Regions from separate parts of the Homo sapiens genome. Here region 2 is linked to region 1. Evidence: promoter capture Hi-C in human tissues and cell types (Jung and others, 2019). All regions are on one chromosome and are shown on one strand. The core of a region is centred on a gene start or on the middle of the fragment in contact, and the rest is flanking DNA. Distances in the headings are between cores, read along the strand shown. Region 1 holds the start of ONECUT2 (one cut homeobox 2). Region 2 overlaps WDR7 (WD repeat domain 7).

Evidence for each region. Contacts are between HindIII fragments. The study calls those that stand out against the background at their distance.
Region 2: a fragment that was not itself captured here is called in contact with the fragment with the promoter of ONECUT2 in region 1 in 3 of the 25 tissues and cell types used here (dorsolateral prefrontal cortex, mesendoderm cells and small bowel).

What each region holds. Positions count from the first base shown.
Region 1 is chr18:57,433,958-57,440,327 of GRCh38, reverse strand. ONECUT2 (one cut homeobox 2) reads right to left here and starts at 4,954. Exons shown (of 2, transcript NM_004852.3): 1 at 3,384-4,954. The coding sequence starts at 4,611. RefSeq lists enhancers at 686-1,441, 2,198-2,953, 5,068-5,647, 5,648-6,228 and a silencer at 5,025-5,074. The HindIII fragment of the contact is 18,346 bases long and covers 1-6,370 here.
Region 2 is chr18:56,898,104-56,904,020 of GRCh38, reverse strand. All of the region lies in intron 21 of WDR7 (WD repeat domain 7), which reads right to left. Among named protein-coding and RNA genes, the nearest start is that of WDR7-OT1, 140 kb to the left of the region's middle. The HindIII fragment of the contact is 3,358 bases long and covers 1,348-4,705 here.

The sequences.
Region 1 (6,370 bases), core at 3,705-6,204:
TTCTCTCACTCCCTTCTTGTTTGTGCTTGGTTTAGAGGTCTCTGGGGCCCAACGCCCGAGAGTGTGTGCTCGAACCCGCAGAAATTTGTCTTGGCCGCCTCTTGTCAGGTTGCTGAAAACCGCCCTGCAAGGGCTGGTCTTGGGGAACCTCTGCGAAGGCCCGACCGGGCGGGGTTGCAACCACCTGCCACTTAGCCGCCCTTTCCGAACGAATCCGTGCATTTGGAGTCAATTTCTCTGAAATCTAACGTTGGGGCAATCTAAATTTCTCCGAAGTTTTCTCCCTTTTCCTTTCAAGTGCCACCCTTGGCTGTGACTACACCGGCAGGCTGGGCAGGAAGGACCTGCCTCTGTTGTGACCTCGCCTAAGGGTGAGCTTTGCCGGCGCTGGCCAAATCAGACCTCTTCATTCTGAGCCCCCTAAACCCCGGCCTGCTTGGCTGTTTGGCAGGACCCGGGGGCGGGGCCAAAATGAGAGAGAAAGGGAACCTATAACCTATGAGAGAAAGAGAAGAGGCAGGTTTGGCGGGAGGGGGGCAGGGACGGTGTCTTCCAGGCACCGGTCTGAGAGTCCGGCCGAGCCGCCTGCGGAGCGGCTGGGCTTGTTAAACCCCCGGGGCCCAACGGCGAGGGCCCTCTGCGGCGTACCGGCGGGGATTCCGATCGATACTCCGGGCGGAGAAAGCCTCCGCTTTTCTTCTCCATTTGCTCCTGTCCCCTAGCGCTCCGAGCACATAATACCTACTTACCAGTCCCAGCTTCTGCATCAGTGTCTGAAGAGACTGATCTACTGACCCCAAACTGAAAAGCCTCCTATGTAATAATAACCACTCAACACACTTGTAGTTGCTGATAAAATGGCCAGATAAAAAGGCTAAAGCTCTTGTCCCTTTTCAACCCAGGGTAATAAAACAGACACACATTTGAATGCTCGAGCAAAGCGGGGTCCTCAGCAGGCCTTTTCCACTCGCTGGAGGAGGCATTCTGTCTCCCACGAAGGCAGCTTCAGCGATCCTCTGCGGAAAATCTAGCAGCGTGGGCAGTGCTGTCCCGGGCCTGTCCCTGCAGACTTGCACCATGGGCGCGGGTGGGGCTGAGGACCCCCGGGATGCCACGCTTTCTCATCTCAGCAACGCTTGGGATCATTTTAAAAGCTGAAACTCGCTAATAGGCGAAGCATTACTTTCCTCATCACTTTCAGACCTATATGGGCAGAAGGCACGTGTTTTTTAAAAGCTGTGTTCTTTGCGCGACCGGCATGAGGGGGCGGCAGCGCTCTGAGATGAGCAGGAGAATAGCTGTCATCCTGCCTTTAACTGTACCCCTAAGACCAGCTGCCAAGTTCCTTCTGGTCCCCGGTGCCCAAGAAGCCGGCGGGTACTAAAACCCACCAGAGACAGCCTGGGACATTCGGGGGGATCTATGACAAAATGTTAAGAACTGTCAGCCAGTCTCCAGTTCATTTCCCGCCGCTATTATTATCGCTCTCTACTGGCTGCTTTATCTTGCCCCGAACCAACAGCAAATCAGAGAAAACTGTAGGAGAGGATGAAAAATAAACTAAAGGAGAAAGATTACATAAATTTCTAAATCCACTCAAAGTATCCGGAGTCCGCCGATTTGGGGGAGGCTCTTTGCAGGGAAACCTAGTTTTCTTTACCTTCTTAGATCAACACTGCGGGGCGATTACCGACTGGGAATAGGAATCCACCAGCAGACGGCAAAGGAAAATGCTGTCAAAGCGGAAACTCCCCCTCCCCAAGCCCGGGTGAACCTGCTGCCTGTCACATTCCCCAGCCCTGTCGGGCGTTGGTCGAGTGCACCCCACAAGCTGGGCTCAGCGGTGCGAGGAAAGCCCGGGGGATCGGGGGTGGAAACCTGAGCTCGCAGCTCCGGAAGCGAGCTGTGCGAGGCTGGCTCGGAACCGCGCGCATCCCAAGACCCGCGCTATGCAAATCATCGCCACCACGAATTGTTCCCCTAGACCGCCCGCCGATCCTGAAAGATACCCCCCTCCACCCGATCCATGGGAAGTCGCCCACCCTGGCTTGCCATAGGGTATAGTGTGTCCTTCCCAGCGGGGGACCTGGACATTTTGCCCCTCTGGGCCCGTGGCTTGCTCCTAGGGGCAGCGCAGTCGCCACGCACACCGCGCGGGGTCCGTGCGCACAAAAGCGCGCAACTGCGTGCCAGTCGCAGTAACTACTGCATCTTTCCCTCTAGCTCGCGCACCCGCCGCCCACACAGGAGGTTTCTGTGCTCCTAGAACAATAGAGGGCTGTACCTCGCAGCTTGGCCGCTAGAGGAGGCACAAAGAGCCGAGCCGGCTCCAGAACAATGTAACCCGCGCCTCTACCCGTCCCCTCCCGCGGGCCGCCAGTCCTCCCCGCGGTCGCCAGGCGCGCACAATCAGCGCCCGCTTAATGCAAAGGCGGAGCCTGCAGCCGGCGGCAGGGATGCATTAACTAACCTGAATTTTTAATTTCTCAGCACCTCTTCCTGCGAGTGCTCAGGGTCTCCCGGAGCCCCGGCAAATCCTGGCAAATCCCAGCAAACGCTGGGACCGGGGCAAGGACGGCCGGTGAGCAAGGCAAAGCGCTTTCCACCTCAGTCTCTTCTCCCACGTCCTCCCAAAGCGGTGAATGTGACCTTCTCAACCTTACACCCTGCCCTCGCTGTAGGTAGTGACATTGGAGCTGGCCCGAGCCCCTCAAGCCCGGTCAGAAAGTCCCTGCGCCAACGCCAAGGCCAGAGATGGGCTCCAGGAGCGCTGTTGTATCCTGGCCGCCGGTTCCCCGCGGGGGCAAGGCTGTGCCTTCAGCCAATGACCAAATAAGTTTGCCTATATGGTGGGTGGGAGAGTAGAGAGCTCTTTTCCCTCTGCAGAGCAAAGCCTCTCAACTGCCTCTGCACAGGGAGACTAGTCAGCCCGGAAAATTGAAATGTGTTGTCTAAAAGAGACTTGAAGTGCATGGGGTTTTGAATAAGGGCAGGTCCTGGTTTCTGTGGGTCTTGGAAAGACAGGGCTCCTAGAGGAAAACGCACACCCCCATCCCGCCTCCCAGTACCTGGGAAGATCGGAAATAGGGCAAAGGTTGGCACATTGAGGGGAGGGCGAATGAAATGGGGGGGGGTCGGTCAATGAAAGCTCAGGGACAAGGAGAGAGTAAGAAAGAAAAAGAAAAGGGAGAAGGGAAAGTAGGGGAAGAGCGGAAGAGAAAGAGAAAATGGAAGAAGAAATAAAAACGAGAAGAAAGAGGACGTGTATAGGAAAGAGAAGGAAAGAATCAAGAGAAGTGACTCGGCGCGCAGACTTGGGCCACAAGCACCGGACCCGGAGCCCTCTTCCCAGCAGCCTGGCCCCTGGCTAGCCCCGGCCTTACCTGCCAGGCGTAAGGCGGACATGCGCTGGAACTCGGGCTCCTGAAGCCACTTCCACATCCTGCGGAAGGTCTCCCTGCCAGATTTGAGTTTACTCCACGGTTTTGGATTCCGGAGCAGGTCGGAGAGAGTCCCCTGAGACCGGCACAGCACCCTCTGCGCAAAGATCGCCTGGGGGATACTGTAGCGCTTCAGCTCCGCTGTGATGCGCTGGGCCACCTCTTTGGTGTTGATTTCTTCCAGCTGGCCCGACGTGGCCACCTGCGAGCCCGATGAGGACGAGGGTGGCCGCTCGCGACTGGGTGCCAGCACCGGCCCGTGAGACTGAGTGTGGCCCGGGTGGTGCAGGCCGTTCAGGTGCGACATCATGGCCGCAGGTGGGGTGCCCAGGCCGCGGGACAGGTGTTGCTCACCGCGGGTCAGCATGGCAGTGTGGTGCGCGTCGAAGTTGGGGCTGAGCATTTTGTCGTGGCCCGGCGGACCGTAGTTGGGCAGACTCTGCTGCGCGTTGTGGAGGCCGCCTAGCCCGTTGCCCAGCGGCGTGGCGGCCAGCGGGGACAGGCTCTGGCTCATGCCGGGCATCTCCTTGTAGGGACTGTAGAGGTTGTTCATGGCCGGGAGCCCGCGCTCGTCGCGCATGAGGGTGAAGCTGCCGCTGACGTTGCCGGACAGGCGCTGGTGGTGGTGGTGGTGGTGGTGGTGCGGATGGTGGTGCGGGTGAGGGTGGTGGAACTTGTCAGACACGGTGGAGATGGGTGGCAGCGGCTGGAGCGGTGTCAGCGTGGTGTAGGTGTTGCTCATGCCCATGCCAGGCGGAGACGAGTCGCAGGACATGCTCATGGCGTGGTGCAGCGGGATGGAGAGCTCGGGCCGGTAGTCGCCGCCGTCCAGGATCGAGGCCATGCTGGTGACCATGGCCGAGCGCGACGCCGCCGCTGCCGCCGCTGCCGCCGTGCCCAGCTCCTGGTGCGCGGTTGGAGGCGGCGGAGGGCCCCGCAGCGAGCCAGCGGCGCCGCGGCCCGCGTGGTGGGGGCTGGGGCTGGCCAGCAGCTCCTGCTCATGGCCCGGGCCCCCGCCGCCGCCCCCGCCGCCCCCGCCGCCGCCCCCGCCACTGCCGCCGCCGGCCGGCCCGTGCAAAGTGCCCAGACTTTCCATTGTCAGCTCCGGGTTCATGGCGCAGCCTTCTAGGTCTTTGGTGAGGCATCGATAGGCGGTGTAGGCAGCCTTCATTCAGTCCATCAGGGCCCGGGGGCGGCGGGGGCGGCGGGGGCGGCCGGCGGGCGGGCAAGGCGCGCGTGGCGGGGCTCGGCTGCGGGAGTGGGGGCGGGCGCGGGAGTGAGTGGAGAGGAGTGCGCGTGCGGGTGTGCGCCCCGGGCTGCGGGCGGGCTCGCCCGGGGTGGGGGCGGGGTGGGGGCGGACGGGGCGTGCGTGCGGGAGAGGGGAGGGGACGGGGAGGGAGGGAGGGATCACCGGGCCCCGCCGCTCGGGCCGGCTCGCAGCCTCGCCATGTCCGAGCCCGCTCCGGCGCCGACGTCTTCTGTTTGGGTGAGCGGGAGCTGTCCAGAAGGGCTCTGCCGCTCGCCGGGGCAGCCAACCTACCCTCCCGGACCTGGGGCGGGGCCACGCCCGACGGGCGCCAAGCGCAACCACTCCGAGGCCGCAGCTGCCCCGGGAGGCGGGCCTTCCACGGGAAGCTACCAGTGGCTGTGGAGGGGGCGGGGCCGCACTTTTCAGGTTTGGCTGACGGCTCGGTGCCTTTTTTACCTCCTTTGCTACTGGAATCAAACGTCAAGGAGAGGGAGGGAGGAGAAGGTGGGGGGGTCGCTGGGGAGAGGGAGGCTGGAGTGCGAGCGAGCGAGAGAGATTCGGTGAAAGATGCCGTGCTGTGTCCCCCCTGAGCAGCTGCGATCTGGGGGAAGGGGCATTGCTTCAATCGCCTTCGCCTCACCCCAAAGCTTTCCTGGAGGCGAGTAAGCCGGGAGCAAAAGACTCCGCTATGTGCCAGTATAGACAAACACTCGTCACTAACAAGCCACTTACCGAGAGTCCCTAGCTGGGAGCCAATAGTTTAGCCTTTTAAAATGCAGGCGCTAATGTATTCTAATGCATGGTAAATTCCCGAGGCCGGGACATGCATAATCTACGCGGTCAGAGCAACTGTAGTGCCCTCGTCGCCAGCGAGCTGCGGCCGGCCGGCGGCCCACGGGCGGCGCGGGCAGCAGTAATGCATGCAAAGTTAACACAATAACATCATTTAATTACCCGGTGAGCCCATAAATCTCAGTTATGAGGCTTCCGAAGAGCCCTGCTAGATTGCAAAACAAAACTAGAATTCCGGGAGCTGCCGTTTCAAGGTGACCAAGTGCTTTCTGCATCAGCGACTTGGAAAGAAGTGGGGAGAGTGTAGAACCGGTGAGGTGGAGGTGAGGAGGGTCGCTGGTGTCCCAAGTGAGCAAACTTCTCCTGGGGGCAGAGAGTAAGCAAACCAGCTGAGACGGCAACCACGGACCTTTCTCCTAACACGAGACACACACACGCGCACACACACACACACACACACACACACACACTCCCGCTTCTCTCAAATCCCGGGAGAGAAACGGCGGTGGGCAGACGACAAGGAATCCTGGCTGACACCTGCATATTCAAACCTTGTTTCTGAAAAGACCAGCGCCCCGGCCAGCCTGAGAACGCTCACAAGCCAAGGCTTTAAAAACCGCACCTACGTCTTCCTAGAATTTCCGTTGTTTGGCAACCCCAGGTCTGGAGGTGGGAGTGGAACTGGGGGACAGAGAGTTGGAGATTTCTGCAGTCCGAGTCGGGGTGGAGGGGTAGTTGAAGACAGAGAGGCCAACACCCGGCATAAAGCCTTAAACGTAACAAGATTCTTCCAAAGCAGGTTGCGCTCTGTTTGCCTCCGAAGATTCAAGCTAGCTGAGGTTGCGCAGATGTTGCCTTTGTTTAAAGAGACAGTAATTAAGGACAGGGT
Region 2 (5,917 bases), core at 1,777-4,276, 530 kb after region 1:
CATCAACTTTAAACAATGCATTAACTAAACACTGCATTAACCGCACTTTAAAGGTTAAGCTGTGAGTCAGGAAATAAAAAATTCTCTGAATAGCACATTGTAATTTAGCTAGATTTTGAACCATGGAAGGTGGAATCAAACGAGGTCACAACCAAATTTTTAAAATAACTTCATTTCTGGATAACAGAACAAAATGATTGCTTATCACCAGTGAGATGGCAAGGAATCTACTTGTGGTCCATAGTAATTTTCTTGAATCTGACAGAACACCAAATCCAACTTCCATTGAAAATGGAAAAATGGCTGGGTGTGGTGGCTCACATCTGTAATCCCAGCACTTTGGGAGGCCGAGGAGTGCGCATCACTTGAGGTCAGGAGTTCAAGACCAGCCTGGCCAACATGGTGAAACCCTGTCTCTACTAAAAATACAAAAATTAGCCAGGCATGGTGGCACATGCCTGTAATCCCAGCTACTCGGGAGGCTGAGGCAGAAGAATCACTTGAACCCAGGTGGCGGAGGCTGCAGTGAGTCGAGATCACGTCACTGCATTCCAGCCTGGGTGACAGGGCAAGACTCCTTCTCAAAGTAAATAAATAAATAAATAAATAATAAAAATAAAATGAAAAACAAATATACCAATTGGCTACTGTTTTATTAATGGATACTTACTATCCACAGCTCAACTCTCAAAACAACAAGTGAATTTTACCACCAGAATGAAGATTATTAAAAATAATACCGAACTAATTACAACTTCATTCATGGAATTAAAAGACCTCAGTGAAACACCATCTTTAGAAAATATCAGAAAATAAAGGCAGACCAATAAAAGATGCAAAACCTCAACGGTTGATGAGGTACTCTCTAGTATGTTTTTAGGCAAGGTTGCTATTAAGTATAAAACAAAAGCAAGTAACTACCACCCAAGGCATTAATACACAATGCTGCCAACGGGCAATCACCTTGATATTTAAGTCAGAAAGGCCAATATTTATTTCAGAAAGGTTCTGAAATAAGAACCTACTGGGTGGTGTGTCAGGAGGGCAACCACGTAAGCAAGTTTGAAAGAACCTGCAAAAATTCACACATTCCTAGACATAAAACGCATTTTTGAGAGAATGAAAAAATCTGTTAACCAAAACACTTTCTATCGATACAGTGATGAGAGTCACACCTTCCTTATGCTGCTGCAGTAAAAGACTGAGTCATAAGTCACTCATTACCTTTTACTTCCCTTAACATCATACTTGTCTGTCTTTTGTCCAGTTGTTAATTTGAGCTCTGGTTTATATAATTTGCTTTAAAAAGCTGGTGCACTTCCAAATCCTAGCACAGTTGAAAATTTACTATTAGGATGAGCCATGTGAAATAGCCAATATTTGACCATCTTTGACCCTCAAAAATGGCAATTTCATATGACACAAGTTAATATTTGATACAATAGTCCTTAATACCACTACACCTGCAACACAGGCATTCAGACAGAAAAATCACAGAGTTTCCATCTGTGTTTACCTGGATGTCTGTCTGTACATGATTTAAGGGAGGTACTAAATAAGACAATAACATTTCAATCTTTGTCTAGCATTTAAAAAATATAGCTTTTAAATAAGCACATTATATAATTATATATACATGTCCCTATATAAATGTCCACAAAGGCAAACTCTACTTTGTAGTTACCAAAATTAACTTGATTGACAAAAGATAGGCTCAGCACTATGATTTCTGGGCAATGAAAACAGCTTGAATGACACACTGCATATAACTATGTAATATTGCTATACTTTAGAAGTAGCCACATCAATATTTTAGGACTTGTGTTATTGCCCAGAACTCTTCTCTTCCCAGAAGCAGAGTGGCCTGTTCAACTCAAGCCAACTGCTATATGCAGTTCCGGAGGTCACAGAACTGACACTGGTGACATTCTGAGCAGACTGCTTTGTGATGTGATGGTCAGTCAGACAAAGTAGAATTTTAAATGAGCTTGAGCTTAACAAGCCTGAAACTCTTCTGTAGCACTTAAAAGTCTGAAGAATTCTCCACTTGCCAATAGTAGTATTCGCCCTTCAAACCATGAACACAAAGACACTAGTAAATCCTCTGCTTGCCATTTTTATTCTTTCTTTACTCCCAGAATGCTGTCCCAGTGAACTGACAACCGCAGCTAAAATGGATGGCACTCCAACATTTTACAACATACAATGCAACTAGGTTGCCTTTTCTATTTTGGAGAAAATACATTGTAATGACCACTGGGACTGAGGATAAGAGATTATAGGGACCATTTCTTCAGTCTGATAAAGCACCTAGTAGCAGGCTCAGAAATCCATAGCAATTAAAAGGCAAATAAAAGTTAAATATAGAATTTGTACATCTATTGTACATTATAATCAAAGATGTGATCTTGTTAACAGATCATTAATTATTCCTTATCACTAACATCCTTGTGAAGTACTAGGTAAGCGATGGGACATTACTAGGCCATTGAAATGCAAATTTGGGGACAACAGTTGCCAACCATCATTTATTTATCTGTAAATGCAAAATGGAGTTAGTTGTGCTTACTCTACAGAGGTAGAATTCATTTTTTGAGGCATGGCCTGGTTTTCAAACCTACCCCATGACTATACTGCCTAGAGATCTACCCAGCTATGATAAGAGTACTTCCCAGAAAGCAACAAAATAGAGAACAATTTCTGGATTGTCCTTTCAAAACTTAAGACAATGACATTATAATAACTATTTATAGAGAATATAATTAGCATTATTATTTTTAAAAATTTTCAAAGACACGGTCTTGCTATGCCCACACTGGTGTTAAACTCCTGGCCTCAAGCAATCCTTCGGCCTTAGCCTCCCCAAGTGCTGGGATTACAGGCATGAGCCATCATGCCTAGCCCATGATTAGCATTATAAAGAACCAAGCAGATAATAAAATTTTAGTGATGTGAAAGTTTTGATTTATGAGACTGTATTTAGAATTATAACAGTAAATTATTCCTTCTAGAACAGTTAGCAATGTATAGTATCTCAGCTCTAAATTCATTGTTTACCTACTGCTTTGCAATACTGGAGCTGGACTCTGGAAACATGTCCTTTGCCAGCTGGCAGAATGTTAAGCTTCATTGATAGAGGTCAATGGAGAGATCCGGCAAGGGGAAAAACACTTCCCTCCCCAAGCTGCTGTGGATGGCCTAACCCTTGGAAAATGGCAGGCTGTGTCTATAGACCAGCTTGGACCAGCCCATCAGCTCTAGCCCCCATCCCTGAAGAAACTTCCAGATTAGCAACAAGCTGCCTCCACTCACAGGCAGCGGTAGGCCACTTTGGCAAATTTCATTATCTACAAGCCCGATGTTCCCCTAGGAATCACTGACTCTTTAAAGAAGTCTAATCTTAGCCTTGGAGGAGGGCCTCTCCCAGTCCTGAGTCACTTTACTATCCACTCTTCCGCACCCTAGACGAGGTAGTAGCTGATATTTTGCACATAGTATCTCTGGACCCCTGAGTCTCTTTTTACCTCTTTTAGTAGTTAATCATTTTCTGCTAGTGAGAAGCTCTTTGTATTAAACTTCCACTGTTTAGGTAACTGATGTGGTTTCTATTTCCTGACTGATTTACCTCCCTTCCTCTCCATCTCCCTTCAAGAATGAATGGGAACCAACTTTACACTACCTAAAGTAACCGCTTTTACTTCTCTGGCTTGGAGACTACTACATAGCTTTAATAGTATTCTAGAAAATTCTACCTTCTCTTTTCTTTACAAAATCATGAAGTAGTACAATTCAGTTACTATAAAAGTTCTCCAAAGTGTCCAGCCCGTCTACTCTATAGATGACAAGATAAAATTTCTGATAACAGTGAAAATTTACTAAAATGCCTAAATCAAAATGCCATTAACAATTTTATATATATATATATATATATATATATACACACACACACACACACATATATATATGTGTCCAGTGAGCTTAATTCAGAGATCACTTATTAATCATGATGTACTCTTATTTGCTTAAAGGAGAAAATCTACAGGTTTGGAGCATAAATCAGACAGTCATCACCTAGGCACACATAAATAATGCAAAACTTTAAAGCACATATTGAATTCTTAGGGATTATTTCTAAAGTTACTTGTTTATCAATGTGTCAGCACTTTGTCAATGGAAATATAAAACTCCTTTATTCTTAAAGCTTATATGATGATCAGAAATCGTTAACACAAAAAGCATTTATTTCTTACACATTAGATATAGTCAAGATTAGTTTCAGGCTTGTACAGTCTAGAATGATTTTTTTTTAAAACAATAAAATACAAAACTAAAGGTAACAAATGAAAAGTATGTTGTACTGGGATCTAATTCCCATGGGTAGCTTTCCTTAGTGTGGGCTCAAGGAAAATACCAATTAATTGCAATGGGCATGTGCAGAAGAAAAACACTCTGAAAAGGTAAAACAAAAGATGCCTTAAAATTTTCAGGAATTTAGGCAATACCTTAGAAACACATTATTGTGTCTTTAATATAAGAATTTTTAAAACTTTGAGGACAGCATGGAAGATTTTTCTTTTTTTCTCCTATGACTAGCAACAAACAAAATTCAGAATATGACTTACTCTAATATTTTGTTTCAACTTTATTTCATGTAATATAGTGGGGAAAAATATACCTATTTAAAATAATGAATTAGAGGTAAGAAGCATCATGGCTTAATGGACATGGATAAAGTTGAATGTGAAAAATATACTCTCTATTCCAAGACCTACCTAATAACACAATGATATATGCTAAAAATCTCTAATTATTATGCTTCTATTTTTAAATCTATAAATAAAACTGTACCAAACTTTCTACCCATGGGTTGTATAGCACCCTCGAAAACTGGAAAGGGAGAAATATTGGGGAAGGAATAGAAACATTAAATTGCTATTCTTAATTCTTAACATAATCAGCTACTTTGAAATATAGTATTACTTATACTACTATAAAATATAAATCTATCTTTATTCTGCTACCTAGGAAGAACCGCTTTTTAAGAACTATTTTGAAATAATTTTTGGCTTCCAGAAAACTTGCATAAATACAGAGATTTCACAGAATTCTTCACTCAGATTCTTCTAAGGTCAACTTACATAACCATTGTATGATTATCAAAATTAGTATTGGTAGAATCCTACTCACTAGCCTACAGACCTGGTTTAAGCTTCACCAGCGCCCTTTTTGGTTCCCACATCCACTTCTAGATCCCACACTGTATTTAGTTGTCATGTCTCTTTAGTCTTCTTCAATCTGTGACAGTTCCTGACATGGTTCATCTTCTCTTCCAAGACTCTGACATTTTTGGTGAATAATGGTTCATTTTGTGGAATGTCTCTCAGTTGGGATGTTTTCTCAAGATTAGATTAAAGGTATGCCCTTTGACTAGAATATCACAGATATGTCCTTGCAAGTGTATCATTCCAAGGAAAATCTGACGTTGAAATGTTTTATTACTGACAACGCTACCCTTCATCATTTGTTTAAGCTAACGAATTACAGTGGAGAAATCAACTTTCCCTTTGCAACTGATACATATCTTGGGAGGAAAAACTTGAAGGCTGTGTTAAATATACTGATTTTAACATCCACCCCTGAATCTTGTCTGCAACAATTACTTCTGTGATCTTCGCCTAATAAAGATTTCCCTGATTCTTGCTATATTTATTAACCAGAATCCTTCTGTAAGAGCTGTCCCTTATCCTTCATTTATTTATTTATTCTAATAGTATGGCTTCATGGGTATTTTATTCTATAGATTATAATTCCATAAAATATATCATATTTTGTTGCCTAAATTGTTCCAGTTTTGGCTATTAGAAGCACCTTCAGGTTGGTCCCATGTCCTTTTGACGTGCCCCTATCCTTTTTAAGC